4 separate regions of the Homo sapiens genome follow, and regions 1, 2 and 4 are each linked to region 3. The links are contacts of gene promoters, found by promoter capture Hi-C in blood cells and fetal thymus (Javierre and others, 2016). All regions are on one chromosome and are shown on one strand. The core of a region is centred on a gene start or on the middle of the fragment in contact, and the rest is flanking DNA. Distances in the headings are between cores, read along the strand shown. Region 1 overlaps NRG1 (neuregulin 1). Region 2 overlaps NRG1 (neuregulin 1). Region 3 holds the start of TTI2 (TELO2 interacting protein 2). Region 4 overlaps NRG1 (neuregulin 1).

Region 1 (7,457 bases), core at 264-2,763, 910 kb before region 3:
TTCCTGTAGATCATAGTGGTAATGAATTGTTAAACTTAGATTTGAAATAGGTCTGACTCTAAGTCTTGTGTTTTTTCAACAGACATTTGTGATTATGCTACATAAAGTTAGAAGTCAGAACATAGGGCTCTGGCATGCTTAGGATAATGTCTTTAATTAAAAGATTCTTATTTTTCAGATGCATTTATATATTACTATTAATGATTTTTAATTACTAAGATATTCAGACTATTAGTGTTTTGCAGTTGTTAGTTGGTTACTTGACTTAAACTTTTTCTTAGGCTATGATCAACCAAGCAGAGGTGAAGTTTAGTTTGAGGTGTAAGATTTTTCTGGGATTCTCTTTAATTAAATACTTTGACTCTTTCCCAATCCTTAGTCTTGGCTTCTTTTTCACACTTCTTATAATCAGATTATGCATAGCAGCCAACATATCCTTTTAATCTCTTGGTGTTTAGTGGCACAATTTCACAGCAATATGCAATTTCTATTATTTTGTAAAATCTTACCCTTGTTTTGCCCACGGTCCTACTAAAAACTACATTCCTACGTGTTCTTTGTATGATTTTTGAATTCCCATTGAGCCTTTGTTTATTTGGCTAACCCATGTGTGGGGCCAATGAAAAGAAATGGAAACTACCCTCATGTTATATGTCTGCTTATGTCTTTGTTCTTGTTTTCTTTGATTGGTGGATGATTTTGATCAAGAAAACTGGTTAAAAAGCTTGGCGTGTGACAGATTCATATGTAAGGACTGGCAGATTGACCTCATTTAAATACCTGTTCTATCTTAGCTTTATTAAAGACTGGCTTCCTATTATTTGTATGTTTCACACACTTTTGGACACCATTAATTTTGCCTCAGCTCTTACATATTTTAATTTTGTTTAAAATTGGCTGTCATTGGTTACATTGGACAAATATTACAATTATTTCCTCTATTTTTACTGGTTGCTTTTTTTGACTTTATAATGGAAAAAGTTTATGTGCATTTCTTTTCTCATATTAGCTGAGCAACTCTGGCAGATCACTTGAACTTTATATATAATGAAATCTCAATGTTCTTATGTAGAAAATGAGAATCCTCAGTGGCATTCCATATGGTTTATGTGAGGCACTTGGTACAGTGACTGGTTCTGTTGCTTAAGAAGCCTCTCTTTTAGCCAAGCACAGTGGTGTGTACCTGCAGTCCCTGCTACTGAGGATCTCTTGAGCGCAGGAGTTCAAGACCAGCCTGGGAAACATAGCAAGACCCCGTCTCTATACTTAAAAAAAAATCATAATTTCCTCTTTCACTTCTTTGTCCTTTTCACGATGATCAGTTTTACACTATCTGAAGCAGTGTTGGACACACACACACACACACACACACACACAAACACTGTCTATATAATTCCTTAGGGGTCAGGGAACCAAAACTGTATAAACAGAAGAGTTCTTCCCTATATGTGTTTAAGTTGCCTTAGCCTGTAACTATGGTAGAATAATCGAGTTAAAATAAAACTAAACTAAATAATAGCTAATGGAACCTTGAATTCACCTTGTAAGTGAGCACACAGTAAAAAACACAGTGTGCTTTCTGATATTAAAAAAATGAAAAGGAAATTAATATTCAGAACTTTTTATCTTCAAATCACTTCACATTAATTTATTTTTACACTGTACTGTTTTTTCTTATTCTAAAAGTAATGCATGCTTATTATGAAAATCCAAATATTTCAGGAATATAGAATGTAATTACTATAATAATAGCTAACACTTATTGGGAAGTTACTATATTGAAAAAATTATTTTAAACACTTTACACGAATTAACTCATTTAATATTTTTAGAAAATAAAAATCCATTGAAACACCAACCTTCCTCCAGATCCCTAGAAAACTCATCAATTAAAGAGCAAAAAGTTAAATTTATGACTATAAGGGAATCAAGTAGTCTTTCCAAGCTAATTTCCTTCTTATAGACAGAGTATGGTATCTTACAGAAAAGAAAAAAAGAAGACTGTTGTATCCATACTTATCAAAGCCCCAAATCTTTTTGCAATATATAATTTTCAAGGAAGATTTGGCTCATTCTACACTCTTACTACATTCTGTCCTTACTCTAGGACACAAGGCTGGATGAATCCCATAGTTAAATGTATCATTAGAATTCAGAGGGATGTTTATGCTCCTTGAGGTCAGTGGTTTTCCAATGATGTCTCTGTAGAGTCCTAAATTTCTATTGAATTGCAAAAAGGATTACCAGTCACTCTGACCTGGAACACTTTCTGTGTGATATTTTTGAATATGAGGTTCTGATTTAAGCTTTCATTTTAAAACAGGATTTTGTTGTAAAAAATAGTTGAAACCACTGATCTAATTTAATCTTTCTCTGCACAGAGATATTCTTGTAGGAATGTGCTTGGCAGGTGGCTATCCAGACTTGAATCTTTCCAAAGAGAAAACCTAACTCTTTCACAAGACACCCTATACATTTTTGAATGCTCAGAAAAGTGCTTCTATGTAATATCATTCAAAACATGTTTCCTTTTTCCTGTAAGACTTAGTTTTCCTGTAAGACTTAGCAATCCCAAATAATTTCCTTTTCCATATGCATCCTGGAAATATATTTAAATAGCTACTCATATTTCATTCATAGTTGTCTGCCAGTGGGACCTCTGTTTCTTTAACATAATCCTCTCTAGTGATAAGATTTCTAGGCCCTATTCAATTCTGATCACCCTCTTCTAAAGTCCTTTAATTATGTTTTTTTATCATCAAATATCATTCCAAAGTATATCCAAAGTATAATTCAGCATTCTAGATATGATCTAGCCGATGAGGAATGTATTGGGGCTTTTATCCAAGTTGATTGATGCTCTGCTTTAATATTAATTTGGCTAAAGAGTACATAAGGTTTTTTTTGTTATTCTTTCTTCTTAAAAATAGTTTTAAAAATGGGTTAATAATAAGCATGTGGCTAATTAGAAATCCTTATTTCTGCATATATTGTAGTCAAGGGATATCTCCTCTTGTATTTATGTCACCAGTTTTCGTACGTGAATGTACTTGTGATGCTTATCTCGATCAAATTGAATCTTAGTCTTGGCCCATTGATGTTCTGTCTTAGGATTCCCAAGGGTGTTCTCCATAGAAAAGATTCCATGGCCACATGTCATGGCTGCCTTAGAAATTCACAGTACAGATTTGCAAAAATTCACTGAGATGCATTGTTGTAAAGAGACCTATTTAACTTTTTTTAATGCAACATTTATTTTAGCATAGAACCATTTTTTTTAAATCTCTCTTTCTTTTAAAGCCTAACATTTGATTGCATTACTAGGAATAGTATTCCAGGAAACAGTGCCAAGGCCTATTAGGAGAAGTTTGATTTTAAGACTTATCCCTTTAAGATTATGTTAACTGTAAATATGATTACCATGTTTTCTTATAGTTCCATCTAGTTCAATAGTTAAAATGTTAATTGCATTGGGTCAAGAAAGGGGTCTTTACATACAAACACGATTGTTCCTAGATTTGTATAAATAGGAAAGAAAGGTTGTTCTTGAGGGTGTTGTAATAATCTTGGAGTTGTAAATTCTTGGGATGTTGTTGTAATCTTATCTCAGAATTTGGGGACTTAAGAAAAGCTACAGTTTTCTTACTTTAGAAATTTACTCCTTCTGTGGCATTGAAAATCAAGATACTATGCCCCACCCTGATATTGTTCATAATTTATCTATTATTGCTAGTGGTTTCATGGTTATACATGAAAATTCTTCCAGCAAACCATGCTAAATGTTGGGCTGGAAAATCTTACAGTGCTTATCCATTTTTTTCCTCACTATTTTTCAAAGGTACCTGTCATGAAGGAAACTTGTCATATATGATCAAAGTAGATATATAGCTGATAATCCATTTAAAAAATCATACGGTATTTGAACGCTCCAAAATTCAGCCCCAAAATTAATACAGCCTGCATTGGGTGATATTCTAATATTGTTTTATTTCGATAATTTTAAAAGTTGTCATATTTTATTGTTAAGACATATCTATTTGCAAAGATACTTGTCATCAAAAGGCCCATTTTGGCTTATAGGGATATACTTCAGGGAAGCTTTCCTATGAATAATGTCTCTGGTTGATGTGTGAATATTCTTTAAATGGCCCTTGGTGGTCTCCCCATTCCTAGATAGATAAGGCTGTTAAATTACATCCACTTTTTGTCAACTTTGTTCCGTGGACCATTATTTTCAGAAAACATTAACAGATATGCCTTGTGAATGAAAAGGATTCCATGGTCAAAGGAGTTTGAGAGAAAATAAATAATATATCCCTTTTCGGGGAGTCAGAGTACAACAGCATATTCAAGATGCTGAGAAATCCTGTGAGATTAAAGATAATGAAAAGCCTGTCTTTATTTCACCTAATATTTTCCAAATTTATTTGAATGTGGAACACATTGCTTTGTTACCTCATGTTTACCTGTTGACATCGAGTCCCGACTAGCGCAGTTAACTTTTCTTTTTCTTTTTCTTTGACCAAGTCTCACTCTGTCACCCAGGCTGGAGTGCAATGGTGTGGTCTCGGCTCACTGCAACCTCTGCCTCCCGGATTCAAATGATTCTCCCGCCTTAGTCTCCTGAGCAGCTGAGACTACAGGCTCATGCCACACACCTGGCTAATTTTTGTATTTTTAGTAGCGACAGGGTTTCACTATTTTGGCCAGGCTTGTCTTGAACTCCTGACCTCGTGATCTGTCTTCCTCGGCCTCCCAAAGTGCTGGGATTACAGGCGTGAGCCACTGCTCCCAGCCGTGAAGTTAACTTTTCAACCCCTATGTTGGTTTGACCACCACTGCCCCTGGTCTGGACCACCTCTGATGGTCTTTGCCCTCTCATTATGGCATTTTTCTTTCCTCCCAACCAGCCTTAGAAATATTAGGTTCTGCTGAGTACTTAAGCAAACATCCAGATATTTTATTCATTCATTCACACATTTATTCAATAATGTCTGAAGAGAAAGCATAGCCTGATGTATGCTCCACGAGACTAGCAAGAAGTTGACATTATAGCTACACTCTCCAAAGTATATGTCCTAGGTCAAGAGATGAGACATACTGAAGGAACTCTCATGAGAGGCGTACTCAGGGCTGTCAGAATTTAGACACGTGAGAGCAGCTCCAGCTACATGACCAGGAGGGGCTTGGTGAAGCAGTTGGCACCTGACATGGCCCTGGAAGGTCAGCTGAGATTTTGATGCATAGGAATGCAGGACCCCCATTGTAGGAAGAAAAAATGACACAGACAAAAGCACAGAGGTGGAAGATCAGGGGGTCTACATGTGGAACTTTGGGTGGTTCAATCGGATAGACTGGAGGATACTAGTAGGAATTATATTTGGAACAATTGATTTTTCTCAGTTAACATTAATGTGTGACAAGAAGACCAGAAAATTCACCAGAAAACTAGCAAAGTATAACGTGGGAGATTTGCAACCAGAAGGATTACTGTTGTTTCTTCCTCCTTTGTTTTCTCCCTTGTCGTTATCCCCTTAAGAGCCCAATAAATCACAGTTACCAGGCTAGAGCATAGAAGGATTGCTATTATTTTTTGGAGATAGGGGTCTCACCCTGCTGCCCAGACTGGAGTGCAGTGACTCTTCACCAGCATGATCATGGCACACTACAGCCTTGAATTCTTGGGCCCAAGTGATTCTCTCATGTCAGCCTCCCAAGTAGCTGGGATTCCAGGGGCATGCCACCACACCAGGCTTTAGAATAATTCTTTAGAAAGAATTCAGTAAACTCTGAGCCAATCCCTGCTGTTCTGAGTTCTTATATCTTGGAGACTGCTTAAATTATAGGTTATGTGCAACAGTAAAACACAGACACAGCAAATCACAATGCTGCCCATGTTAAAAAAAAAAAGTGAATGTTGATGTAATATTCAGAGTTTTATAAAACTATGTGATAATGTTGCCCAAATATTTATTCCAGTATTAAGAACCTTTCATGTGGTACTATGCTCCCAGCAATGAGAATCTTAAGGAAAGAAAAATTCCCTTCCTTTTGGAATTGATAAATCCTCTTAATTCAAAATTAACATTATTCTTGATGTTACTCTACTGAGAAGAAGAGTGCACAGTATTTTTAAAATCTATTCTAACCTTCAGTAAGTGTCCTTAACAGACTTGTAGGAAATGATTTTATACATTTTTCTCTTCCTAAACCCTAGTGGCTGATGGCATTTGGATATAGAAAAGTAAGAAAATTTACCAATTGGGTTTAAAAATCTAAAGTATAACACAGTTATTGGTGATGGTAAGGGAGTAAAAAGAAAAACTACAGAAGAATTCCTTTAAACTACTGATTTAGGTGATAAAATTGAGATGAAATCCATGGTACAACTTAAATGTGATGCATCTTACTTTTACTCTAGGTAAAATCATGAGGTCAGATCAATGTAACGGAAGTTGTATTTTAACATATGTATAAGGTGGGGAGAGGCAGTTTGAGAACTCTGAAAGCATAGAAAAGTATGTATTTATATTTGTTGGATTTCTGTGATATATACTGACACCACTTTGGTCCTGATCTTATAGGAAGTCAGAACTTCGCATTAACAAAGCATCACTGGCTGATTCTGGAGAGTATATGTGCAAAGTGATCAGCAAATTAGGAAATGACAGTGCCTCTGCCAATATCACCATCGTGGAATCAAACGGTAAGAGATACCTACGGTATTCTGTTCCTCAATCTGTAACAAGAGTAATCAAAACATGTGGTAAGACTCATAATAGACTGGTGTGTTAAATCTCATTGTGAACAAATTAAAAACAGAGAAAGAAAACCAGATGTTTCAAGGATCTTGTATGTCTTTCATAAATTTCTGTACTCTATGAGATTATATAGACCTGAAATATACATATATTTTTTACAAAAGGATTTTAATAAGGCCATGAATGGCAGAGATAGGTTGGGTTGCTAAAATATAGGGGCTATACTATTTTTTTAAGTTGGTCAGTGAGGGCAGTCAAGTCTTTGGCTCTCTGAACAACAGAATACAGTCATATATATATACAGGATATATATACACAATATGTATATATGCACACAGAATATATGCATATTATGTATTATATATGCGTTATATATGTATATATGTTTACGTATATATAACATATGTATTATATATGTATTATGTATGTATTATATATGTATTATATATATTACATATATAATATGCATACATATATAATATGCATATATTCTGTGTGTGTGCAGAATACAGTCCTGACTCAATTCTGGCAATTTTATTCCCATTACATCTGGCATTAGGTAGTAGAAAGTTAAACCATTAATTTTTTTTAGGCCTATTAATTTTGAAATTAGGACCGTCTTAGAGGCAATAAATTTCCTACTAGGAAGAGGCTTCATCTTCAGCTTTGTTCAGAATAGTACCAGGCAATACTTGT
Region 2 (6,747 bases), core at 3,247-5,746, 890 kb before region 3:
AAGCACCTGTCTTCATTCTCACTGGCAATTTTAAATAGAATTCAATGCCAGAACTTGATGTTTTTCACCAATCCTAATTAGAAACATGGCTTACTTTTATTTTTGAACAAAAATGTACTTGTTCAAAGATCTGTAACTTAAAAATTCTTACTACAGCTTGGCAATCCGATAGCTTTGACTTTCTTAGTTCCCCTATTTCGACTTTTCTTCCTGAGAAGCCTACTGCCTCTTTGACATAAATTCTTCCTCACTGACCCAAGTGGAGGCAGTGAATGCTTCCTAATTATTTTAGCACAGCTGATTTTATGCTCTTTGCATAAGAAAGGAGAACTATCAATTTGGACTGTCTTTCTGCATTTCTCACTCTCTGTATGGTTAAAGCCTGGACTTTTCTCACTCCCTTGCAATACTTCCTTCCTTTACACTTAACTTTTAGTTCCAAGGCAGGCTGTGGTACCTGCTCCCGGCCTCCTGTTTATATATCATAATGTCCTATCACCTTTTTTTTTCAGAGATCATCACTGGTATGCCAGCCTCAACTGAAGGAGCATATGTGTCTTCAGGTAAGGAAAATAAGCCTGGCAAATTTTACTAACCAGAATGACAACCATAACTGCTGGCTGCTCCTTCTACTAATCAGAACCCCTTCTGCATCCAGACCTCTCAGCTGCTCTTGTTTTCTGCTTCAATATTTTTCTCAACCTTGTTCTGTCTTTTTGGATTTTACTTAAGGGAGGATGGTTCTTGCTGTGTCTTCAAACTTAGGCCTGAGAAACATACATGAGTGAAAGAAATCTATATCTAGGTGCAACTTAATGACATTAAGCAAGTAAAGGAGATATATCTGAGTTACAAGCTCAGTTTTTATGTCTTTCCAGGTGATTCTCTTAGCTGCCTTCTACTCTTTCACCCCTCAGAGTGTATTCCTGGGTAATTTGTCAACATCTGATCCGTGACCTTTGGGTTTCTAATAATCAGTTGTGGATCGCTAAACTTAACAAAACAAAACAGAACAGAACAGAACAAAACAAAACAAAAAGACTTACAGCCTTTAAAAATGCTGTTGTCTTTGTTTTGGTTGGTTTCTCACTTGCCTGTAGTATTTGCTGATAGCACTTATAGTCTGAGCAGATATTAGCAACTTAGAACCCAACTCTAGCAATGCATATATAACCATAATTCATTGATTTCTTCACAAGCTATGAATTTAATCTATCCTCTATGTATTTCATTTTTTAAACTTTTTCTTATTCTTTGTAATGCTATAATTAATAGAGCCTTAGAACATTTAAAAATTAATCTTTATTTGGAAGAAAATTTTTGAAGACCCAAGATTGGAAATTCATCTCAGAGGTACAATGGTAATTTGGTTTTGCATGGTGCCTTTTCTTTTACAAAAATTCTTAAATTTCATTTGATAATCACAATAAACTTGTGAAACAAGACATCATTTTTCCTCATTTTACAGATGAGAAAACTGAAGTATTAGAAATGTTAAGTCATATACCTCAGGAAGTAGAAGAGAAGGTATTTCAAGTTCGATATTCTTTTTATTACTCCACATTTAATATTTTAGCTTCATTGAGTTTTTCATTATGGCTGGTACCTTGTTGAAACTATAGAATGACCTATAATCAACATGTCTTTTTCCATCTTACCTCCATCATTTCCTCTTCCCTTCAAAGCCATTTTTTAAAACCATAAAAGCTAAACATCTCTGTATCCTAGACTACTTTAGCTATATTTAGGACATATTCATATGTCATTACTAAGATATAAGTGTATGTGTGTTGCGGAATGGTATGATCCTGGAGTCTAAGAGGTTGTTACTCTTCTGAGGAAAGGAAGGAAGGAAAAAAGAGGAAAAGAGAGAGAAAAAAAGAAAAAAAATCACATATTCTAAATTTCTTCACCTTTCATTTACACGTTTCTGTAATATAGGGACTTCGTTATCTGACTCCAGTAAATGCCATTAGGAAAAAAAGAGCTTTTACATTTATATGGAACTTATCTTGGGAAATTGACTATAACTATTATTTCTTAATATGTGACTTGAATCTTGATAACTTTCTGGCTGTTGACTTTCAATCCTTCTTTGATACTAAGACTTCTTTATTTCTTACTAATGAAAACCCATCCGTTCCATGCTTTTTTCGGCATGAGTCATATTTTTCATTCTCTCTGTACTTAATGACTGTTTTTTCTTCTTTTATCTTTGCTACCTGAGAAAATCTTGCTACTAGATATCCCCAACTATTGTATGATTTATTTAATTAGCATGGTTTGTTTGATCCTAATGTAATTATTCTATTGCTCTAGCAGACTTTGCATGGACTTTTCAGCACTTTCTGGTCCGGATGTTTATGCAGATCCAAGTTGCCTGGAAATACTCTCAATCTTGTTTGTTTATTTATTTGGCATGCATGAAAATTGGCTTTCACTCTCTTGGAATCCAGGGGCTATTCTCTTTGGTTTCATGTTTTCTCAAAATCAAGACCACATCTGAAAGAAGGAATTTTCTTTCTCACCTGTGGTGTGTATCTCCTCAGAGTAGTCTCTCTTGGAAGTTCAGATAATGCTTGGTGTGTGGGATATTCTTACAGATGGATTGACTCCATTTTCATCCCTTTTAAAAGTCTTTGGGTCTAGACTATGGTAATATTCCTTTGTGGTCTTTGAGTATTGCATTCTGACTTATAAATGCTTCAGCTTCTCTGTTGCACGGTGTTCTACTACTCTTTTACTAGGCGATACCCAAGCCTGGCAAATTTCTAATTTATGAGTCCAAGCAGCATGACTCAATAAAGCCTCATTCCACTTTTATGTTTTATAGAGTCTCCCATTAGAATATCAGTATCCACAGAAGGAGCAAATACTTCTTCATGTAAGTATACTTAAATATTCTATTCACTGGTTTTTAACCCAAGGCACTATCTGCTTTGGAAGGTCATGTTCACGTCTATCTTCTGCCCCTATTAAGGGTCAGAGTATTGAGTTTGGCAATAGGTGGTATTTGCTGTTTGGAGTAGAAATGGCCTCCTAATATGCTTAAGGACAACTAGACATCCTGTCCTCCCAATATACATAAGAATATTAAAATACACCACAAATGTATCAGTTTTAGGGTAATCTGGTGGCTTTGAATATTGAAAAATAATTGCACAAGTTCTGAGGCCTAATTCCTGGCAAGCAGTAGAGCACATTGTGTGTCTTTTCAGCTTCTCTGGATGCCTTCAGCAACTGCCTGAGGCATGATACCCAGCTGTTTGGAGCTTCCGTTCCAAAACTTCTTCATTCTCATATAAAGTTAGCTGTGATGGAGTAAGAAAACTATATATAGATGCCCTTAATTCAAATTTGATAGCAAGTAACTGATTATGAAAATGTTTGAAAGCAAGCCCCTAGGCAAGATCTCAGATTAGTTTTCGTCTATTTAATGTGAAATGGGCTTTGTGCTTGTGGACTTCTATAACTGTTAGATTGATTGGGGTTTTGTGCTATGTCGGGGGAACTTAAAATATTAGCAAGGACTAGTATAAAGAGTTTTTGATACTTATAAATTGAGAATATCATCGTATTAAATTTTGATACTCAACAGGGGAGTTTATCAAACCTTGAAAATTAAACTTATAACTACAGTCTTTCTCTTCCTTATGTTAGCTCCTTATTTAAAGCATTTCTCAATTTGATAAGCTCTTCAATAAATAGATGTTCCTAGTTATTCTATTTCGATCTGGGGAGTGTGTTGAAGGAACAATTTCCTTTTGCTATCAGCAGGGTAGGAAAACTCATGAAAAGAAAGTCTGTCCTTTTGGCAATTTAAGTTGTTTTGTCAATCTGTTTAAATAAATCCTGTTTGATGTTACAGCCTTTCCCTCCAGGTTGGTGATACTAGAACTGTAACTATATGGTATAAAATTATCTTTTATTGTGTGAAGTATGGTGTTTTGGCTATATTTTAACTACATAAAGCGTCATTTAACTGGATTGATGGCAATAGCCTGGTGAGATCAAACAGGAAATGAAATGCTAGAAAGGGCCAAATTAGTTTCCTATGTGTTCCAAGGGCTCTCATCATATCCTCCAAAATGATAATTTCTGCCGGGGAATTTGTGCTATTTGTTTTTTAATTCTACTTATAAAAAGATTAGTATAATTATATGGATTTTATGTAGCTAGCATCCAGGAATCACATTGAGCTTTTTTTTTTTAAGTGTTTATTCTGCAGAAGCAAATACTAGGTTTTTCTTTTTTGGCATTTTGTCTGGAAATAATTTCTCTCCTGTGTGATTCATTGAATAAAGTTATTGAAACTCTTGTAATTGGAACCCTTCATGCTATCATCAATGGGACCATAGATACTATCCTTAAGCATATCTGAGCAGTTTGAGAATGTAAAAAAATACTTTTGGTTTTCCCAAGCTTTGGGGAACTGAAATAAATCTCTCAGTTTATGTTTCTATTCATTGCATTATCACTGAGAGAGAAATAATTATGAAATCTGACTCCATTCCCTAATTCTCAGTAGAATTAGTTTTTGATATTTGGCAATGGTTTAAAACTAAGAAAGGAAGCTTTGTGTACCATGATATTAAAATATTTCAATGTGCCATTTTCACACATCAGTCACCCGGGGTCATGGTAAGTTCTCAGTAAATATGGTTGAATTGATTCATGAACACATTTTTTTGTGGAACTTAATTTTATTAGGAGAATATAAACAATGAATATAATAAACTAGTAACACGATATATTAGAAGGTGCTACGTAGTCCAAAAATGAGAAACAGTAGAGGAGGGGAGGGGATAAGGAGAGTTGAAACTTGTGATTTTTATTAGGTTGATCAAGGTAAGTCTCATTAAATTGTTGATATTTGGACAAAAAGTGGAAAGAAGTGAAGGGTTAACTTTGCAAACATCTAGGGAAACTGGCTGGGCATGGTCGCTCATGCCTATAATCCTAGCATTTTGGGAGGCCAAGGCGGGAAGATTGCTTGAGCCCAAGAGTTTGAGGCCAGTCTGGGTAACATTAGTCAGACCTCAGCTCTACAGAAAATTGAAAACTTAGCTGGACTTGGTGGCATGCACTTGTAGTCCCACCTTCTTGGGAGGCTGAGGTGGGAGGATCACTTGAACTCAGGAGGTTGAGGCTGCAGTGAGCTGTGATTGTGCCACTGCACTCCAGCCTGGGTGACAGAGGGAGACTCTGTTTCAAGAAAAACAATCAAACAAACAAACAAAAAAACATCTGGGGAAACTGTATTTAGGCAAAGAACAGGCTGTACAAAGGCCCTTAGACAAAAGCATGGCTCATGTGCCGTGTAGGGGACCATAAGGAGCCCTGTGGGGTTGGAGTAGAAGGAACAAAGGGATGAAATATAGAAGATGAGGGCCACAGACCCTGGGGTCTGAGCATGTAGTGCCTTGTAGGCCATTGTCAGGACATTGGTATTTAATGGAATCACTCTGGCTCCTGTGTGAAGAATGGCTCACTGGGAGGAAGGGTAGAATCCAGGATCCCAGTTAGGTGGCTTTTGCTGAGAGCATAGTGGCCTGGCCCAGGCTGGTAGCAGTAGAGGTGGCAAAAAAGTCAGTCTGTAATAGTTTGAAAGTCAAGCCAGCAAGATTCCCTAACCAATTCATTGTGAGGTGTTAGAGAAAGAGAAAAGCCATAGGTAAAACCAAGGCTGCTTTTGTTTTTGGTTTTTAACTTTTGGTGTTCCATTTGATTTTCTTCTTTGGCTTTTTCATTATACTTCTTCATATTAACTATTGTTTTACTTGTTTTTTTATAATTACAATATGCATGTTTTACTAATCCTAGTGTGTTTTTTAAAATTTTAGATTCAGCGGGTACATTGGCAGGTTTATTACATTTTTTAATCTCATGAAAATATGCTCTTCAGTTTGAAAATATAAACCAGTCGTGGCAGGAACCAGGTCCAGTCTTAGTTACAATAATGAAAATAGCATGAAGCACACAGTCCATTTCAAGGCAGCCACACGCAGGACTTGCATTGCAGGGAACGACTGTGAGGTACAAATATCTCCATTTAGTAAAGGCTGAAGGTGAACCTTGAAGAGTCAGCAATAACAATAAGCCAAACTCAAAAATGCCAAATATATAAAAAAGTCAAAGGCCTCAGAAAAGTTTGCCTGGTCAAAAATAATCAGCTTCAAAGAATAGATTTCTTTTCACTTTATTTTAGCCAGCAAGGAGATGCTAGTAAATCCCTGTATTTGAAAAGCGAACTCTGCTTTTCTAATGTGATTGTGCCTGTACCGGCTACATTCTTTGAACTAATGACATTGGTGTTTTCTAAAGTAAATGTTGAAAAGCCTCTCTGAAGTAGTATGGATTCAGCAAACATTTTATGTATTAAACAGTTCTCTGCGATTTGGGGGTCAGTGTAAGACAGGGGAGGCTTTCAGAGCAAACAGATATAGGCAGAGGAGATGGATCTGACTTCACAGCCCCCAAAGTTCCCTTTTTTCCTCTTTAACTCATGTTGGATTAGAAGAAAAAAAAAAAAAAAAAAAGAGCAGGCATGGTGGCTCATGCCTGTAATCCTAGCACTTTGAGAGGCCAAAGAGGGAGGATAGCTTGACACCAGGAGTTCGAGACTAGTCTGGGCAACACATTGAGACCTCATCTCTATAAAAAAATAAAGAAATTAGCCAGGCTTGGTGGCAGCCCTGAAGTCTCAGCTACTTGGGAGGCTGAGGTGGGAGGATCACCTGAGCCCGG
Region 3 (7,198 bases), core at 2,341-4,840:
CTTCCTGTTTCTTCTATAATTATCATTTTAGTTATTACATTACCTATAGGATACAACTTCTACCAGGTGGATAGAGGAAAAATATAAGGAGAAAATACAAATAAGTAAAGTTGAATGACTTAGCATTACTAGAAATGAAGAACAGCCAGGAATGACTCAGTCTGTCCTGTCAACACAGATGACAAGCCAGAGGTTGCTTACCACATTAAGCACAATGTGATGGAGACAGTGTACACCCAGGATTTTGTTCTCAGTCTGATAGTCATCTGAAATGACCAATGATGCGGGAAGTACCCTTTCCAGATGCTGGCTCAGCCAGGGCCGAGTGACCTGTTGCAGAGTCCATGAGAAAACATGTTTGATGGCAGGGTTATTCTTCCAGGATTCCCTAAGTGAATACATAGAATTACATTAAGTGACATGGTGATAAGTAGCAAAAAAAAAAAAAAAAAAAACTACTTCAAGCTAAACAGAGTATTTTCATGTCTTTGAAAAAAAAAATACATCGCACATAAGATAACTCTTGATTCTATATCATACATTCTAAGATCTGGATTAAAATAACTTCCATAACTTACACCAAATAATCATCCAGGGCTTTGGGTCTACAGCCTATCCAATGAGAAGGAGTCAATTATAACCAGAGCTACATAAAGGACTTATGGTGATGGATGGTGAAGGTATGTTGAGAAGGGAGGGAGGAGTAAAGGAAATGGATTAGTAGTATTACACTAAGGAAACAAATGAATCAACACTTGAACACCTGTTAATCGCTAATAAAGTGAGTGTACACACGACTTAACTAATTCTCAAAATAATTACTGTGTAATAGGTACATTATATTTATTTTGAAATAGAGTCTCACTCTATTGCCCAGGCTGGAGTGCAGTGGCACCATCTGGGTTCACTGCAACCTCCGCCTCCCAGGCTCAAGCGATTCTCCTGCTTCAGCCTCCCGAGTAGATGGGATTACACACTTGCACCACCATACCCGGATAATTTTTATATTTGTAGTAGAGACGGGGTTTCACCATGTTGCCCAGGCTGGTCCTGAATTCCTGGCCTCAAGTGATCTGACAGCCTTGGCCTCCCAAAGTACTGGGATTACAGGTGTCAGCCACCACACTCCGCCAAGTATATTATCTTTATATTAGAAACAAACAGATTCAGATAACTGTCTAATCTGGTCCTACTCAGAGCAACAAATAGAAGCACGAAACTCAAAATCAAGCCTTTTAATTCCGTGTTCCTGGTAAAATGACAGTTACAGATACTTTTTCTCTCATTACTCCAGTGCTAACAAAGTAGCAAGTGGAAACTCATTGAAAGAACTTCAGCTAACAGTAATCTAAAGGTGCTTTTCACTTTTTATCCTAAACATGGCTTTCTTAGCTGATAGTCATCCTTCTCTAACAAGCAGTAATGAGATTCAAGATCCCCAAGTCTAAATTCAAACCATAAGTTTAAATCCTCTCTAAATCCCCCATCCAAATTCTAGTAATTTGTAATTTTTTTTGAGACGATGTCTTGCTCTGTTGCCCAGATTGGAGTGCAGTGGCCCGATCTCAGCTCACTGCAATCTCTGCCTCCTGGTTTCAAGCGATTCTACTGCCTCAGCCTCCCGAGTAGTTTGGATTACAGGCGTCCACCACCATGCCCAGCTAATTTTTGTATTTTTAGTAGAGATGGGGTTTCACAATGTTGGCCAGGCTGGTCTCGAACTCCTGACCTTAAGTGATCCACCCGCCTCGGCCTCCCAAAGTGCTGGGACTACAGGAGTGAGCCACCTCGCCCGGCCACATTTTGTAATTATTAACTCCAAGTAAGTGGGACAGAATTTCCAATTTTCCTAGGCAGTCGTCCTAAGGGCTGGAAAGAGCATTGGACAACTGAGCCCGAACATCTCAGTTATGACCTCCAATTTGCCACTATCCAGTTATGTCATTTATAGCAAATCACAACGTTTCTGGGCCTTAAGAGATCCGTGGTTACAGCACCCTTATTTTACTGCTGAAGAAATTGAGCTTCCTTTGAGGTATAACGCTATAAAAAATTAAGCTAGGGCAGGCGCAGTGGCTCACGCCTGTAATCCCAGCATTTTGGGAGCCCGAGGCGGGTGGATCACTTGAGGTCAAGAGTTCAAGACCAGCCTGGCCAACATGGTGAAACCCCGTCTCTACTAAAAATACAAAAAATCAGCCAGGCGTGGTGACGGGCAACTGTAATCCCAGCTACTCCGAAGGCTGACACAGGAGAATCGCTTGAACCCAGGAGGCGGAGGTTGCAGTGAGCTGAGATCGCAACATTGCACTCCACCCTGGGCAACAAGAGTGAAACTCTGTCTCGAAAATAAATAAATAATAAAAAATAAAAATAAAAAACTGTGAGGCTCAAGTCGGTGGCAAAGGGCAGGAGTACTCACTTATACAAGTCGGGTTTGAGAAGCCCTAGTATCACCGAAAGTCTCCCTTTCTCATCTTCATTTTCTCCATGTAGGAATCCTGCCACAGAACCGCATTCAGTAACTTGAAGCAGTGAGGTGAGCACCTCCCTAGCAACTTCCCGAGATCTCGGAGTGGTCCATGGTTGCTCCAAGCTGTGTGTGATGGCAAAAATATAAACGGGTCCTGCCAAGTGATGCAGGCCCGTCTGCCATGCAGGGCCGACCAGGGAATTCTTAGCAGTCTCAACTTTCCCTAACAGTTTAAGAAACAGTAACCCAACTTGGGCTGCTTTCTCGGCCGCTTCGGAGTGCCCATCACCTCCACCTTCCTCCTCCTTGGAGGGGGCTGCATACTTCTCCAGGGCTTTTGCTACCTGCCCCAGTGTCTCCGGCATTCCGCGGAGCCGTGCACCAGTCCCCTCAAATAACCTATCAAATTCTGTGGCTTCTATTAGATCACCGAGGTCTTTAAGAACTGCATCTTTTACATTGCCTCGTCGTGCCTCCGGGCGGGCAAGACAGTGTAAAATCTTGGAGAAGGCCTGTCCAAAGGCGGAGTGAGACAACTCCTCGGACAAATTAGAGTCTTCCTGCGATGGGGCTTCCAGAGCGCTGTCAAGCTCCATTCCTGACTGCAGCACCAGAAGGCTGGTCTCTCCCACAGAACGAGGATGGAGGCGGGGAGGGATCCGTTGAAGAGGGAAGGAGCGATCACCCAAAGAGAACTAAAATCAAATAAAATAAAACAGAGAGATGTCTTGGAGGAGGGGGCGAGTCTGACCGGGATAAGAATAAAGAGAAAGGGTGAACCCGGGAGGCGGAGTTTGCAGTGAGCCGAGATCGCGCCACTGCACTCCAGCCTGGGCGACAGAGTGAGACTCCGTCTCAGTAAAAAAAAAAAAAAAAAAAAGAATAAAGAGGAAAGGACGCAAGAAAGGGAAAGGGGACTCTCAGGGAGTAAAAGAGTCTTACACTTTTAACAGTGACGTTAAAAGACTACTGTTGCCTTTCTGAAGACTAAAAAGAAAAAAAACTTAAAAATTTAAAGAAATAAACTTCTGAGCCATGTCACCAACTTAACCACCCCCAGGTACCTGCAACGGCTCGCGCCCGCCGGTGTCTAACAGGATCCGGACCTAGCTCATATTGCTGCCGCAAAACGCAAGGCTAGCTTCCGCCAGTACTGCCGCAACACCTTCTTATTTCACGACGTATGGTCGTAAAGCAATAAAGATCCAGGCTCGGGAAAATGACGGAGAGGTGGAACTATAGAGAATAAATTTGCATATATAATAATCCGCTCGCTAATTGTGTTTCTGTTTTCCTTTGCTAAGGTAGAAACAAAAGAATAATCACAGAATCTCAGTGGGACTTTGAAAATATCCAGGATTTTATACGTGAAGAATGGATGTATCGCATTACGGTAGTCACCCTATGTGTAAATTAGTGGCACATACTTGGCACTCCTTAATGTCAACTATAAGATGATCCTTTTGTAGTTCATGAGCGTGATGATTGGGTGTTCATACGCTTGTGTGAGATGTGCCACCCTTGAACCTTGTTACGACGTGGGCACATTACCCGTCTGACCTGAACTTCAAGGATCGATTTAACACTTGTATTTGTGGGCTTGTTACTTATGATAACAGGTGGCCTAGTTTCATGGCTTTGTGTTTACCGTTTTCGGGTGCCCTTTTTTCTGGCTGTATGCTACACGCACGGGTGCTTTTCCGTTGTCCAACTGTGTAATGTGTTTTTGTGTTTGTTCTTTTGTGAGTCGGAGTCTCGCGTTGTCGCCAGGCTGGAGTTGCAGTGTTGCGATCTCGGCTCACTGCAACCCCCACCTCCGGTTTTCGAGAGATTGTCCTACCTCAGCCTCCCGAGTAGCTGGGACTATAGGCGCGCGCCACCACGCCCAGCTAATTTTTGTATAAATATTGGCAAGGATGGTCTCGATCTCTTGACCTCGTGATGCGCCCGCCTCGGCCTCCCAAAGGGCTGGGATTACAGGCGTGAGCCACCGCGCCTGGCCAATGCAGAGCTTTTTAATGGCTTTAATTTTTTAGGTTTGGGAGATACCTGCGCAGGTTTGTTACCTGGATATGTTGTGGGATGCTGGGATTTGGAGTGCAGCTTAGCCCGTTTTCATTGCCCCCTCTAGTAGACCACAGTGTCTGTTGTTGCCACTTTTATGTCCACGTGTTCCTAATGTTTAGCTCCCACTTATGAATGAGAGCATGCGGTATTTGGTTTTCTGTTCAATGCAATACTTTAGCTGGTTTCTGGAGCTAGCGTTTTAAAGCCTGTAGCCACAAGCGTTTGAAAATTCAAATTCTAGCGTCAAGGTAGAAGCCCCCAGCTGGCGTCTGGGGCAGCCCTGAGGGAGGTGGGTCGTCGGGTTGGCGGATCCGGCTTGGGCCCGCCCCGCCAGTGTCGGCGCCGGGTGCGCAGGGACAGCAGAGCGCTGTCTTGGGCATGGGTCGCAGGCGGCGCCCGGAACGGGCCAGGGGAGCTGGAGGCTGCAGACTCGGGCTCGGCGGGTGTAGGAACCAGTGGTGTTTGCTTGGGTTTTGAGAAGGCGCGAGAAGGGTCGCGCCTGTGCGACCGCCCTGTGTTGGGTCCCCCACGCCGCGTCGGCATTGCTTGTTCCCTCTTCCTGCGCTTTCCTGGAGGGTAGAATTGCGTCCGATTGGCCTTCAGTTCCCGAGGAGCTGCTTCCATTTAGGACCTTGTGACTCTCATAGCTTCCACGGTTTCGCAGGAGCCCGAGGAGGCAAACTTCATTTGTGCCACTGCACAGGCGGGAGCTTCGGACCCTGGGAGGGGTGGCGCGAGAGAGACGTGTCGCCAGCTGCTCGGAGAGGGACTCTTATTCAGCCTCTAAGGCGTCAATTGCGCCTCCAGGGTTCCAGGAGTCCAGAGAAAGCCCTTCGGGGTCTTCTGACCTGGGGTAGGGTGAGGGGCGTGTGTGCGCGCAGGGGCGAGGGAGGGGTGACGTGTCAGGTGTCCTTTGTCCTCGCGAGGAGGTGGTTATGGGGTAGAGGGACATACAGTATTTTCGTCCCACCTTGGGGAGCGCACCAGCTTCTTGGTGCACTACTTGCAACTGTCCCATCTGCGGTGTCTTGCTGCCTACTCGCCTGCCCTTCTTTCCATTTTGCTGTCTGACCTTGGGCAAAAGTTCGGTAGCCTCTCTGTGCCTTCATTTCTTTTTATTTTTTATTTAATTAAAAAATATTTTTTTAGAGACAGGGTCTTGCTCCGTGGCCCAGGCAGGAGTGCAGTGGCGTCATCGTATCTCACTGCAGCTTCAAACTCCTGGGTTCAAGCGATCCTCCCGCCTCAGTCTCCCAGTAACTGGGACCACAGGCGCGCCCTACCACACCCTACTAATATTTTCTAATTTTTTTGTAGAAATGGGGTCTCGCTGTATTACCCAGGCTAATCTCGAGCTCCTGGCCTCGCGATCCTCCCTCCTTGGCCTCCTAAAGCGCTTAGATTACAGGTGTGAACCACCCACCTCGCTGGTGCCTTAATTTTTTTTTTCTTTTTCTTTTATTTTTCCTTCCTTCCTTCCTTCCTTCCTTCCTTCCTTCCTTCCTTCCTTCCTTCCTTCCTTCCTTCTTCCTTCTTCCTTCTTCCTTCTTTCTTTTCTTTCTTGTCTCCCTGTCGCCCAGGCTGGAGTGCAGTGGTGTGATCTTGGCTTATAGCAACCTCTGCCTCCCAGGTTCAAGCGATTCTCATGCCTCAGCCTCTCGAGTAACTGGGATTACAGGCACCCACCACGCCCAGCTAATTTTGTATTTTTACCAGACACGGAGTTTCACCATGTTGGCCAGGCTGGTCTCTAAATCTTGACCTCAAGTTATCCACCTGCCTTGGCTTCCCAAAGTGCTGTGATTACAGGCGTGAGCCACCTCGCCCAGCCACCTTAATTTCTTTATCGGAAAAATGCAGGTAGTAATAATTCGTACCACTTAGGAGTGTTGTGAGAAAGGAATTATATGTAAACTGCTTAGAACAATATCTGGTCAGCAGAAAGTTCTACATAGGTGTTGGCTCATGTTAAACCACAGCTCCTGTGTTGTTACATTTCCTCTTTCCAGGGTAATTTTGTGGTTAGGACCCTCCCTCTCGGCCTCTTTCATTCAGCTTTCCCTTCTCTGACCAATTGGTGGCACTCATGATTTTTTAAGCAATTTCAACCACTGGTAACCATCTCCTCCCGAGGGGACTCTCCTGTTTGCAGGCCCAAGTGGAAGCAAGATGCCAATAAATAGACAGTTATTGTGTCCCTCCTGTGTGCAAGCGTCTCTTCCCTGTTCCATGTGCCCCTTGTGCTAAGTGGACCCAAGCTATTACTTCTTATAAGGAAAGCACTTGTATTGTGGAGATCTCCCCATCTGCACTTCTGAGTTTCCTGAAGCCAGAGACCACGTCTTTATTCCCAGTGCCTGGCACAATTTGGTCATGCAATAAATGTTTGTTGAACCCACACATCCATCCACAGAGGACTGGCTGAATAAACTATGTATATCCACACAATGCAGTTTTATGCCGCTGCACAGAGGAAAGAGAACCATCTCTGTGGACTGCCTTGGAAATCTAGGATGTATTGTTAAGTGAAAAAAGCAGGACAGAGACCATGTGTATGTTGCCTTTATTTTTATTTTTCCCCCTTTTCACACGTGTTGAAATGCTGCCTTTCTTGTAAGAAAGATGGGAAAATAGAAATAATGATGTGTGCATTTGCTT
Region 4 (7,207 bases), core at 807-3,306, 930 kb before region 3:
TTGCATTCTCTGAAGGGAGCTTTAAATAATCTAACCATGAACTCTATTTTATTTTATTTTATTTTATTTTGTTTTGTTTTATTTATTTTTGAGACAGGGTCTTGCTCTGTCACCCAGACTGGAGTGCAGTGGCATGGTTTCAGTTCACTGAAGCCTAAACCTCCTGGGCTCAAGTGCTCTGCCCATCTCAGCCTCCGGAGTAGCTGGGACCATAGGCACATGCCACCACACCTGGGTAATTTTTGTATTTTTTGTAAAGATGATGTTTTACCATGTTGCCCAGGCTGGTCTCAAACTCCTGGGCTCAAGTGATCTGCCTACCTCAGCCTCCCAAAGGGCTGGGATTACAGGCGTGAGACACGGCGCCCAGCCTGAGCTCTCTATATTTTAGTTTCCTTTAATAACATGATCAGTTCCACCCATGAATTTAATTAATTCCTTATGAGTTTGCTATTAAAATAAAATGAGCGGTTATTGATGCTTATTGTGTGTGTGACAGTATCCTATTCAAAGTATGGGATACAGTTCTTTGATTCTCTCACTCCATCCTGTGGAAGGTAAACTTACCTTGCAGATGAGGATGAAGTTCACCTAGGTAATAGATGGACTTGGCCAAGCCATGAGACTTTAGGTGGGAAAACTGGAATCAGAACCTGAGCCAACCTGACTTCAAAGCCCAAGTTTTCTCCTTTGTGTTGTCTCCTGAGTCATTTTCCTGTATAGCCCCGCTGAATAAGCATTTTCCAAATTATATTTTGTATTGTGCAAAACTTCACTTCCTTTTTTATTCAAAGACTATGTATTTCATGCTTCAAGGTTTTCTGAGAACTGCAGTATTCTGCAAATTCTCAAAAAATGCTTTTGCTCTTTCTAAGATTTCATGACTTTAAAGAACAGTTACTTTCTTCCTGGCCTTCCTGGTGTCAGTCTGTATGATTCTATAATGTTTAGTGTATTCCTTTATATTGGCTGCCCTTTCCTTTGAGCATTTCGGTAACTTTTCTTGATAGTTTCCAGCTACTTTTTTTTTCTTTTTGTCTCTCAAGAATGACCAAAAGTATATGTAGTTTTTCAGATATTTGTCATGTAATTTCGTGCCATCTAGATTTATATAACCTAACATTTTCTGGCTTTTTCTTAGATATTTATAGATGGTGGTGGTTAAATCAGAGTTAATAATATTAATTTTTAAAATATGCAAAATGCTTTTATTGCTCTTTTTAATTAGGTTTTTACAACTGTATTGAAATAGGTGTGGCAGGTGCTATTTCCCCTCCTTTTTCTGCTCAAGATGATTGAGATTCAGAGTAATTTTGTGACTGCTTCATCCTGCAGACCAAACAAGTACTTTACCTAAGTTTCCTGTCTCCATTCTTTTTGATAGGGTCTATCAAGCTTGTGGCAAAAGCTCAAGATGTTATGTGTAGAGTTCAGTAATTTAAATTCATGGACTTATAAACTATTAACAAAGAATCTAATTAACCTTCTTTCTAAGTAAAAACAAACAAAACAAAAGATACTTCTAGTAGAGTGCCAGTGTCTTTAGGGATTCATGGGGAATTAATTAAATTCATGGTTGGTACTGATCATGTTATTAAAGGAAATTAAAATCTAGAGAGCTCATGGTTAAATTGTTTAAAGCTCCCTTCAGATAATGCAAATTTCACCATCAATGCCCTACCCTGGGCTCACCCAGAAGGCATTTCTTAGACTACCACTATTTAGCCTACTGTTTACAAAGTACTTTCATACATGATCTCATTGTTCAGCACGAAAAAAGCTGTACACAAGTTGGTGCAATCCAAGTAAGGTCTCCAGTGTAGCTAATAGTAGGGTAAGGAAAACGATATGTTGACATGCTAAGTGAGCTTCATTTTGACTTCTTTCGTGTAACATGTTTGAGTCTTTGTGCTGAGAAAATTGTATTACATTCTGGGAGTCAGTGGGTTGTGTCAGAATGTGTGGGAAGCAGCTCACTTTCACTTTCAAAAGATTCTTTAAGGAATTTATGCTTTTTGTAAAATAGGGGAGACTATTTGGACTCTTTCTTATTGGGATTTCTTTTTGTGTGTTTTATGAGACCAAAGGGCACTGACTTCCATCATACGGTTTGACTTTGGAGGACAGTACGGGAAAGTGCAGCAGCCTTGTAGTTATAGTGGCCACAGAATGTAGTCACAGAATAATGTAGCACCAGGTTTCTTACTGTCAACAATCTGTTTAATTTGATTTTGGTTATTTTCCACCTCTTCAGCAAATTCATGTCACTGGGAACCCTAAGATAAGGAATTTGCCTTCCCTGATCTTCCTGTGGGGTAGAAGTAAAATGATAAGAATTCAATCGTTAGGTTGTCCATGGACCTGCTTAAGAGTGCAAGGAGGTTTTAAAGGTCCTTAGAAAGTCAAATGTGGACCCTGCTGAAGAAGGGATGCAGCGTTGCTTACTTAAAACTGTAGTGAACAGAGAAGAGAGAAATTTAACTTTGATATTGTAGGCCTCAACGAGTAAAGAAGGCTTTCAATCCTGGCAGGTACTAAGGTTTTAGTATCATTCTCTTTAATAAGTCATCTGTGGACAAAAATGAAAAAATCAGAAAGCCATAATTACTAAGAAAGGAGATCTGACTAAATAACAAAGAAACAGATTTTAGAAGTCCTGAAAGGACACATTTGTTTCAGAATTAGCTCTGCTAAAATTTTTCTTTTTCACAGAAGGAATAAGCTTTAAATGGCTATGTGAAAAATAGATTATAGGGAACTAATGTTCTTAGATCATGAATCAGGGACTTTGTTCATTTATATGCACTGCTTAAAAGTTTTCACATAGTTATCATTGTTTAAAACTAATTATAATCAATTGCTAACTCATCTTACCTGGGAATTTATTTAGTTTAGAACATGTAAGTAAATTTCTTTAAATAAAAAAGAGAATTTTAGTGGCATGAATTAAATGTAATTCAACTTGAGCAAAGAAGAAATGGTTATAAAGACAAATATTAACATATCAAAATCATGTTAATGTGCTAACTTTACCTAAGCAATAAACACATCAGAACAGAAAAAAACTTGACAATAAGAAAATAAGTAAATATATTTTTAATTTTTAGTAACTAGATGTTTCTCAGTTTTTCTGTTTAACATTTTGGAAGTGAATATGGCTGGTATGTATAATGCATAAGAAAAAAATCCTGTTTTATGACAATGGAAAAAATCATATTTATAAGCTTATGTCATGTGAACTTTGCTACACATCAATTAGGTAAAACTGTACTGGATCCATTTTAACCCTGTGAGTTGATTGCTTTCAGTGAAGCTTGCTGGACATCTTTATGTCCGAGAGTGAGATGTTCTTATAATTAGGGGCAGCTGTGGTGACAGAATCAATTAGGCAGGCCTGCTGAACACTTACCTTCCAGCTGCTGGCCGCGGCGCAGTGATTTGCTCCAGCATTCATTGTCACGGTGTATTGCCTTTACACCTCGAAAGAACAACATTAATCCATTAAGCCACTTTTGTTGCTGTATCCTCACGTGGGGGTTATCACATCGCAGTGAACACAGGAGTGAGATACAGCACTGTTCACCCTTGTGGCATTTGGCATATGACAGATAGACAGCTGCATAGTTCAAAAGAATTATTTTAACACCAATCGCAAGTATTGCCTTGTTTTATTTCCCCATCAATTATCCAAGTAGCTCAGAAAATTCAGCAATTTTGCATATCTACTGTATTTCTCAGACTGTCTTTTGCACGTGGAATAAGTGCAGAAATAATGTCATGTGGTGTATCCCAGGTTTTGTGAGGAAAATATGGACCCTATTGATAGATCATTAAATAAAATCTTTAGCACATTGTCTGGTAGTTAAGAGCCAGGGCTCTGGAGTCAAACTTCCTGGGTTCAGATACTGACTTGATAGTATACCAGCCGTGTGACTATAGACAGGTTACTTTACCTCTCTGTTTCTGTTTCTTCATCTGTAAGTTGGTGATAATGGCAGTAATACATATCTCCTGGAGTTATCATAAAACTTAAAAACGTTAATGAGCATAAAGCTCTTAGAACAATGCCTGGCACATAGTAGGTACTCAAGTATCAGCTATTATTATTCAAAGGTGTTTATTGTTGAAAGTACTATATATATATATATATATATATATAATGTGTATATGTATACATTACATTCTACTATATATACTATATATAAATATACTGTAAATAAAAAGGACTTTATTTAACTTCATCTCATAGGCTTTGGAAATACATTATAGTTGTTTTAAGATTTTTATCTTTAGTCCCTAACTGTGAAGTACAGGGCAAGGAACTGTATAGAAAAGAGAGATTGCTAATTTCAATAAATAACTAATTTCAATTATCAGGGTGAAAAATTATCTCACCTAATAAACCTGCATTCATTTTCCCTTGTAGAATTTTACAGTATTGTAAATTTCTCACAGACAAATGTGGAGAGGTGATTTGGTTTACATAGCTCATTATAAGAACAAAAAATTTACTGTAGTGGCTATGAAATGGAGTGATCTTTCCCAGATTTTTAATCTACTGTCCTTCTCTCCATTTTCTGCCTCCACTTCAAACTTTGTAGAAAAACTAGGTATGGTAAAAAGTCCTAGGTTTAAGTTTTGGTTCTGCAACTTGTTAGACTTACGACATTAAGTTCCCCTATCAGTTTCCATCTCCTCACCTGTAAATGGAAACAATCATTAGGTACCTTACATGAAATACACACCAGAACTGTTGCAGATGAAAGGAGATTTGACCAAATAGTAATTTTGCGGATATGTAGTGACAACAAGGCACATTAACAGTTAAGGGAGCAAACCAGCATCTTGTAGACCATGGTCAATCAATGGAGAAGAGCAACTTTGACTTGAGGGCATAGGAGGTATGGTGGCTGACACTTATAATCCCAGCACTTTGGGAGGCTAGAGCAAGAGGATTCCTTGAAGAGGATTGCTTGAAGTGTTTGAGACCAGCCTGGGCAACATGAATCTCTGTATACAACAAAACAAAAAGCCCAGCGTGGTGGTGTGTGCCTGTGCCTGTGGTCCCAGCTATGTGAGAGGCTAAGGCAGGAGGATCACTTGAGCTTAAGATTCTGAGGCTGCAGTAAGCTGTGATCACATAACACCACTGCATTCTAGCCTGGGTGACAGAGTGAGACTCTGCCGCCAAAAAAAAAAAATTAAAGCAGAGAAGGTAATGTGCTTTTCTTGCAATAATACAAGAACCGTCTGACCACTCTGGGTAGACTCTGAAATTAGGTGAAATAAATGAGCTAGCAAGGAACATGACCAGGGTCTCGGCTGAGGCAGGGTCCAGTTTGAGAGTCCTCCAACAGTGATGGCCAGATAAGAGAAATACAGAACATGAAAACTTCAAAGTAAAGATAATACGACTTACTTGACAATTTTCCAGTTAGATTTACATGTCATTTTTGTTAGTGTCTGATGGCAGAGCGGCATAAGAGTCCTAGCCCAGTGGCATGCAGAACACAAACAATGTCACAGGGCCTCACGATTCCAAATAATAAAAAGTCATAGAGAAGATAGATGGGGCCTCTGGAATCATTTTGTACCTGGGTTTCTTCTTTGTCAGCATCTTCCAGATTCTTCCTCATCCTTTCAGCAGACACTTGAAGTCCTACTTTGGGTTAGGAGAGCCTGAGATCCTGTATATCTTCCATTCAATAAATTCAGAAATTTTGATGTTTAGGTATAGTATCAATCCAAATGGACACATACACAGTCAGGAAATAGCCTAACCCTCCAAATAGAGACTGTGACCCCCTGCTATTAACTTGCTGACCCTTGTTTGATTTCGTAGGGATAAATTCCTTGAATGGCCCTCTGTTTGTACATGTGGGTTTTTTTGTTTTGTTTTGTTTTGTTTTGTTTTGTTTTTTGAGACGGACTCTTGCCCTGTCACCCAGGCTGGAGTGCAGTGGTGTGCCCACTGCAATCTCTGCCTCCCCAGTTCAAATGATTCTCGTGCCTCGGCCTCCCTAGTAACTGGGATTACAGATGTGTGCCACAATGCTTGGCTAATTTTTGTATTTTTAGTAGAGATGGCGTTTCACCATGTTGGTCAGGCTGGCCTTGAACTCTTGATCTCAAGTGATCCATCTGCCTCGGCCTCCCAAAGAGCTGGGATTGCAGGTATGAGCCACCAGCGCCCAGCCCTCTACATGTTTTTTAAGTGCAGTCAGTTGAGTATGGTTTTCAGATGGAGAATCTGATTAATCATCTTCAATGGCCTTAGCATAAGCATTCTATTTAACTGAGCTGATTGTGGCTCATACCCTCAAATCAAATATCTTAAAGAATCATACTGTTTCAGTCATCGTGTAGCAGTTAATTGTGAGAAGTGAAACTTGGAGGACATCCGTATGTAAAATCCCCCACCAAAGGAAACCAATATGTTTGGGAAATCAAAATGAAGCACTAGTAAGAAGCCAACTCTGGCTGTAGTGGCACCACTGTGATGAGTGTTAGCATAAAATGCTGAAATACTGCCCCCAATTTTATTCTTTTATGTTGTATAATGAAACGTTCTATGCATGTTATGTGCTTGCAAAGAAATTATTCAGTAGTTCATATACACATCGTTGGATTACATAAGGAGCTGGACATGGAACTGCTAGAATGGAATTTCCAGAGTCCAGCCATCTTAACCCTACTTTGAAGCCTATTCCCAGTGTGTTTGCTGGTTGGATTTAGTTTGCTGCCAGTGGTAAAGAGAGTCAGCTTGAGAATATATTATAACAAAATACTGAATTTTATGGCAACTTTTATTTCAAATGAAGGTGCCATCCTCCTTCCTCAGTAGTCAGGGACAAATAGCAGCTCCATTCCAGCTCACAGGGAACCCTATTTAACTTGAATCAAGAACATTCTGTCTAAGCCTGATTCAGCTAGAGCACAGGGCGGGGTGAGCACAACATCACCACAGGTGGCAACAAATAATGATCTTGTTGGGCGATTCGGGATATAACCCAACATCACCCACTGCGTCAGTAGCAGGGCATTAAAACCTAGCTGCATTCCGAAATACCATTACCACTAGAATGTGCTGCCTTTTACACAGCTATATTTACACATTTGATAAGACAAACTTTCCCTTTTATAGCCAAATTTGTGAGTGCAGCTCAGAAGAGAAGACCAGATGGAAGAGCACAAAGTTTATCCACTC

What was found. Contacts are between HindIII fragments. The CHiCAGO score rates a contact against its expected background, and 5 or more counts as called.
Region 1: a contact is called between a fragment that was not itself captured here and the fragment with the promoter of TTI2 in region 3, in 1 of 17 cell types (M0 macrophages). The highest score is 5.2, in M0 macrophages.
Region 2: a contact is called between a fragment that was not itself captured here and the fragment with the promoter of TTI2 in region 3, in 1 of 17 cell types (M0 macrophages). The highest score is 5.2, in M0 macrophages.
Region 4: a contact is called between a fragment that was not itself captured here and the fragment with the promoter of TTI2 in region 3, in 4 of 17 cell types (monocytes, M0 macrophages, M1 macrophages and 1 more). The highest score is 8.8, in monocytes.

Annotation. Positions count from the first base shown.
Region 1 is chr8:32,598,978-32,606,434 of GRCh38, forward strand. It overlaps NRG1 (neuregulin 1), which reads left to right. Exons shown (of 12, transcript NM_013964.5): 3 at 6,585-6,706. Among named protein-coding and RNA genes, the nearest start is that of NRG1, 54 kb to the left of the region's middle. The HindIII fragment of the contact is 1,582 bases long and covers 723-2,304 here.
Region 2 is chr8:32,614,002-32,620,748 of GRCh38, forward strand. It overlaps NRG1 (neuregulin 1), which reads left to right. Exons shown (of 12, transcript NM_013964.5): 4 at 513-563; 5 at 2,834-2,884. Among named protein-coding and RNA genes, the nearest start is that of NRG1, 69 kb to the left of the region's middle. The HindIII fragment of the contact is 152 bases long and covers 4,421-4,572 here.
Region 3 is chr8:33,509,545-33,516,742 of GRCh38, forward strand. It overlaps TTI2 (TELO2 interacting protein 2), which reads right to left and starts at 3,591. Exons shown (of 8, transcript NM_001102401.4): 1 at 3,538-3,591; 2 at 2,423-3,168; 3 at 202-388. The coding sequence starts at 3,069. It overlaps SNORD13 (small nucleolar RNA, C/D box 13), which reads left to right and starts at 3,931; the gene lies at 3,931-4,034. RefSeq lists enhancers at 3,623-3,762, 5,283-5,572 and a silencer at 4,193-4,242. The HindIII fragment of the contact is 19,476 bases long and covers 1-7,198 here.
Region 4 is chr8:32,582,026-32,589,232 of GRCh38, forward strand. All of the region lies in intron 1 of NRG1 (neuregulin 1), which reads left to right. Among named protein-coding and RNA genes, the nearest start is that of NRG1, 37 kb to the left of the region's middle. The HindIII fragment of the contact is 1,327 bases long and covers 1,394-2,720 here.